Linked DNA regions of Homo sapiens: region 1 is linked to region 2. The links are contacts of gene promoters, found by promoter capture Hi-C in blood cells and fetal thymus (Javierre and others, 2016). All regions are on one chromosome and are shown on one strand. The core of a region is centred on a gene start or on the middle of the fragment in contact, and the rest is flanking DNA. Distances in the headings are between cores, read along the strand shown. Region 1 holds the start of PDZK1IP1 (PDZK1 interacting protein 1). Region 2 holds the start of MOB3C (MOB kinase activator 3C).

The links. The method cuts DNA at HindIII sites, captures the fragments that hold promoters and counts their contacts. A CHiCAGO score of 5 or more calls a contact.
Region 1: the fragment with the promoter of PDZK1IP1 here is called in contact with the fragment with the promoter of MOB3C in region 2 in 2 of 17 cell types (megakaryocytes and erythroblasts); the score reaches 5.7 in megakaryocytes.

The regions. Positions count from the first base shown.
Region 1 is chr1:47,188,640-47,191,339 of GRCh38, forward strand. PDZK1IP1 (PDZK1 interacting protein 1) reads right to left here and starts at 1,397. Exons shown (of 4, transcript NM_005764.4): 1 at 1,227-1,397. The coding sequence starts at 1,293. RefSeq lists a silencer at 1,678-1,972. The HindIII fragment of the contact is 10,710 bases long and covers 1-2,700 here.
Region 2 is chr1:46,615,532-46,618,231 of GRCh38, forward strand. It overlaps MOB3C (MOB kinase activator 3C), which reads right to left and starts at 1,280. Exons shown (of 4, transcript NM_201403.3): 1 at 1,180-1,280. RefSeq lists an enhancer at 705-774 and a silencer at 1,175-1,454. The HindIII fragment of the contact is 4,243 bases long and covers 1-2,700 here.

The DNA of each region.
Region 1 (2,700 bases), core at 147-2,646, 570 kb after region 2:
TCTCCTGCTGCAGTGGAGGCCTGACCTCTTCTCCGAGCCTGGCAAATATTGGGAAGGAGGAAGGAGGCTAGGAACTCTCTGGCCTGTAGTGAGGTCAGACCTCACTTATCTCCAGGGGAAGCAGAAGACACACAGTGTGATTACCCTCAGTTCCACACCTGCCAAAAAGCAGTATTTGGGAGTCATTGTTTCCCTAGGGGTTCAGACTGCTCCCTCAGGTCAGTGGTTGCTCAAGCATGGGGAGTTAGGGCTCAACCCTTGGAGGCCCCTCCCTGTTTCCTCCTAGACCCTGCAGCCAATTCTCTCCAGTCACCCCAGGGACCACAGTCCCTGCTCCTCCTCCCATGCACATACAGCAAGGGGCAGTGTCTGGGGCAGGAGAAAGGTGGTCTGAACCCTGTCCTTTCTTGCCGTGCTCTGTGACTCAACCTCTCTGGTCTGCAGTTCCCCAGAGGGCTTCCAAGACCTGGGAGACAGAGTTGAAGCAGACACACATAAGAGCTCGGGGTGGGGGTGGGAGGGGAGCTCTGAAAGCATCTTTGCCAGTCCCCTCTGGACCAAGTCCCACCTGCAGAGTCCCCAGACTTTGGCTGCAGATGCAGCCTGACAGTGTAGAATGAAAGCCAGACCTTGGGTTAGTTACTTCACCAGGTGCAAAGCCCTTCTTCACCTCTGACCTGGCAGCAGCCCTGGGAGGTGGGCAGGGTGGGGTTTATTGTTCTCATTTTATAGGTGAGAAAACTGAGTCTCAGGAAGGGGCAGTGATTTGCTCAAGGTCACACATCCATTCAGGCAGAGCAGGACGAAGAGGTCAGATATTTGGGGGAGTCACACTGGGCACTGTTCTCTATCCAAGCCCAAGAGGCCGAGACAAAGCCCAAGTCTTTGAGGGGTGGCTTGGGCCCCACTCTCACCCTACTTGTACCCCCGGGTCCCCTGTACTCAGGACCCAGCCATCCCTTGGGCAATGCCTGCTCTTGGGGCTTGGGCCTCAAATCCTGTTCCTCCCTGAGATCCTAGAACCAACTGCTGCCAGTTTTCACTCGTTGAAAACAAGTGACAGGCAGAGACTTGGTTCAGAGGTCTCTGCCTTGGGACATTCTTTCAGCTAGCGCAGTCCCTGCTCCCCCTCCAAACTGTAAGTATCAAGGCCCTGGGGAGGGGAGCCAGAACACCACCTGTCCACCCCTGGGTCTCCCGTGCCCAGCCCTCTCCTCCTGAGCTACCTTGCTGACAGCTGGCAGGTGGCACTGCCGTGAGCAGGCCCAGAATGAGGAGGCTGAGGGCCGACATGGCTGCAGCAGCTCCTAGCCTTGCTTCTGGCCGCCGGTGTCTGGGCTCCTGGAGCTGCTGTGGAGTCTATTGGTGTCCGCCTGAAATCAACCTGGGCTCAGTCTGGCCCTGGAGGAGAGGAGCTAGGAAGGAGGAAGGCGAGGGAGGGAGGAGACACGAAGACGGGCGTCGGAGAGAACGTGCCCTCCCTCCCATGGTAATGAGCTGCCAGACCTGGCCTCCCCTGGCTGGTGCCCAGCTCACTTGGGCTGGCATTCGAGGTCATCTTCCAGGGGCCAGCTAAGGAGGTGGGTATGAGGAACAAGCAGATGTGGGAGAGTCCCAGCCTCACCTCCATGCCCTGAGCTCCCTTTTCCTGGCAGTGGGGCTGGATTCTAGGGAAAGGGGTGACACACAGTCGCTCCTGCCTTGACTGAGCCCAGTGGGCGGGGCTTCTTGGAAGGCTGACAGTGGGATTAAGAAATGTCCTGGCTGGCTCAGGAGCCTGGGGAAAACCCCAGAAGCCCAGAGAAGGCTCAAAGCTGCCAGACTCCGCCGAGAGCCTGGCCTATTTCCTGTTCTCCCCACCACCTGCCCCTGCCCCGCCAAGCTAAACTCTGGGACTCTAATGCTGGGACACACTACGGCTTCAGTGCCTTCCACGCCCTGGCCCAGCCCAGTAGCTTCCTAAATCCACCCCCTTCTGCAAAGATCTCAATAGAGGGCCTGAAGGTCCCAGTCCCCAGCTTTCACAGCCCATGCCCAGGCCCTGACCCAGCACAGCTAACCTAGTCCCAGTTCGGTTCTTCCTCTTGGCCCCAGATGTGGTCCCTGGAAACCGGGCAGGGCCTCAAAACAAGATACAGCCTTGGTCAGAGGCTTCAACACCCAACTTCAGATCCATCTCCACCCATGGCAGAGGAGAAAATGGGCAAACACAGCCTGCTGTGGGGGACAAAGGACGGACACCCCAGATGGCAAGGTGCGATCTGGGGCCCTGAAGCCCTGGGCCCGTCACCCTCATAGCCAAAAGCAGCATTGAGGAAGGCACACCTAGCCCCTGGAACAGGGAGGCCCTGGAGCCAGAGCCCTCGGAAGAGGCAAAAGCCTCCCCAGGATCACGTGGTGTCCACCTGGCCCTCCAGCTCAGGGAATGAGAATGGCCAGAGTTCCTGTGCAAGCCCCTGACCAAGGGTCATGCTGGTCTCCTTGCCCCACCCCCCACCCCAGAAGTATGGGAAGCTGAGATGCTGACTCCCTAGAAAGGAGCGGGCCAACTGGAACAAAGTCTCATCAGAGATGGAAGGTCCCCAGGAGCCAGCACCTGAGCTGAAGGCACCTCCACAGCCTCTCTTCCCTGAAGCCACCAAACTCCTATTCATCAGGCCTCCTGGGCAACCCTTCCTATGGCAGGTTGATTCTGCCTTC
Region 2 (2,700 bases), core at 30-2,529:
GAATCTTAGAGTTAAAATAGCCCTGATAGATCAGCTGGCCCAACTCACTTGTACAGATGGGGAAACTGAGGCCCAGATGAGGAAACTGAGGCCTAAAAAGAGGACTTGAGGAGCCTGTGTCCACATAGCAAGTTACAAGCAGAACTGGGAACTGGGATAAGGTGGGGCTCAGCTCATGACCAAGAGTAAAAGACCATTTTCCTGCACTGGCTCATCAATGGTCTGGTGGAGACAGAGAAGAGGAGGGGAGTGGAGGGACAGTGGAAGCATCTTCTCCACCAAACAGCCCAACCTGCTTCCTGTCCCCAACACACTGACTCCGCACAGCAACTGGGGTGTCCTGACCAGTGAGCTAGAGTTCCACCTTACTCCTGTGGAACTTCAAGGCCTGGGTCTCTTTCCAGGAAAATGTAAGCTCAGGGGGTGGGTGCAGGGCAGGTGCTCTTCTAGCCACAGGGTTAACTCCCTTCACTCCCCACCCCCATGCCCTCACTGAGTTTCTATCTGTCACAGAACCTCTGTCTCTCCCTGAACCACTGCCGTTCCCCGTCCTAGCCCCCATTTCCCAGTGATGGCTATCCTTTCACTCCTGGAGTGGCAGTGCCTTGCTCGTTCCCTGGGTGCGGATCTGGGCTTCTCAAATGAAGACAGCAGGCTGACCCTACCTGTTTCTGATATTTAGCCCCCTGCTAGGCTACATCTACCACTCCTTGGGCCTGGCCCAGGATCTGGGCCAGAGGATGGCCCCAGTTTGAACCCAGAATCCATCCTGGGACTCTCTCTAGGACAGAGGTCGAAGAGAAAAAGTAGAGGCGAAGACTCCACGCTCTCCTCGCGGCGCGCAGCCACCCACGCCCACCCCCGGCTTCCCTGCAACCTCAAACCAGCTCCCAGGGCCAGGAAGGTCGTAGGACCCAGAGGAGCCCGCCTGACATTTCCGCTCCCCGAAAACACGCCCCCCAACCCCTCCCCTCTGCCCCGTACTCCCCCACCCCGACAATCCCCCCCGCAACTTTCGAAGCTCTGAGCCTCGGACGCCAGCCTCAGGACAGCGGCCAGCCTGCCTTCGGGCGGGACTCTCCTCCGGACTGTGCCACGCCAGGACGGCCGAAGAAATGAAAGTGGAAGCCAGGCGGGCGGGGTGCGCGGCGAGGCCGCAGGGGCACGGCGCACACTCACGGGTCCTCTTCTGGCCGTGGGGTCACATTCCCAGCCACAGGATCGCCTTTCTCCTGCAGGTCCCGCAGTGCCTGTTCTCTCTCCTGTCAGCCTGTCCGTCTGCCTGTCCTGCCGGCCGCGGCTGCCCTCCTGCCCCGGGCGACGCCAGCTCCGCCCCGGCCCCGCCACGCCGCGGCCACGGGGCGGGGAGGGGCGGAGAAAGGGGACTCCCCTCCACTCCAGTACACAGACGCACTCGCCCCCACCTTCCCGGAAAGTCCATATGGGGCTCCCAGCTTCCCCTTGGACAAAGGACTAACTGAGCTGCCCGCCCTCTCGGTGCTTCCTTGGACCTCCACCAAGGAGGCAGCCTCAAGTTCCCAGACAGTAAAATGGGAAAACGCTCGGCTTCTTCTGGAGCAGAAACAAGAGCTGCTAGATAAGGGTGGTTTCTTTGCCCTCCTAGAATCGTCTGCGTCACACTTGTCCCGGGACCCAATAAGGGATCGGGACCGTCCTATCCACTCCCATATCCTCAGCTCCTGGCACATAGCAGGAACTCAAAACCCACTTGATGAATGAATGAATGGGTGAGTGAAGGAATAAATGAACGCCTTGGGAATCATGAGCTGAGTCCTTCACCCCTGAGGGACAAGCCCCAGAAGAGCGCTCAAATCACAAACTTCATCTCCTCACCAGGGAGGGGGCCTGGCTCAGGTTGGGCTGATTCTCCTTGCTCCTTACCCAGAGTCACCCCATTTCTTATCTCCAGACCCTTATCCCAGCTGTTCCATTTTAGAATACCTTCTCTCCCTCCTTCCTTCTGACAAATCCAAACCACTCAAGATCTGATCTGCTCTCCCTACCACCTGGGTTCCTTCGAGGACAGACAGATATCCCACCAGCATTCAATGCACACCGTGGCCCCCAGGCCCAGGGACCAGTTGGCTGCTCTGTCTGGGATGGGAGGGAAGATTGGAGGCTTTCTAGGGTAGGAAGCCCAAAGCAGAGAGCTTAGCCATAGAAGCCACTCTGGAGGGGTGGGAGGTGAGTAGATGCGGGTAGGGGAGAGCTGGAGGCCAGAGGTGGGCATTTACCATGGCACACTGGACCTCCCTTGTGTCTGGACCTTCTGTTGCTGGATGACATGAGAACACGCTAGATCCTTAACCCAGATCATATCCTTTGCAGCAACATGGGCTGGAGCTGGAGGCCATTATCCTAAGCAGACTAACACAGGAATAGAAAACCAAATACTGCATATTCTCACTTACAAGTAGGAGCTAAACAATGAGAATACATAGATACTAGGAGGGGAACAGCAGACACTGGGGCCTGCTTGGGAGTGGAGGGCGGGAGGAGGGAGGATGAGACAAAAATACCCATCAGGTACTATGCTGCTTACCTCGGTGATGAAATTATCTGTACACCAAATCCCCATGACACAGAGTTTACTTATATAACAAACCTACACATGTACCCTTGAACCTAAAATAAAAGTAAAGAAAGAATCCCAGCTCATAGAACTGTGGGTATGTTCTT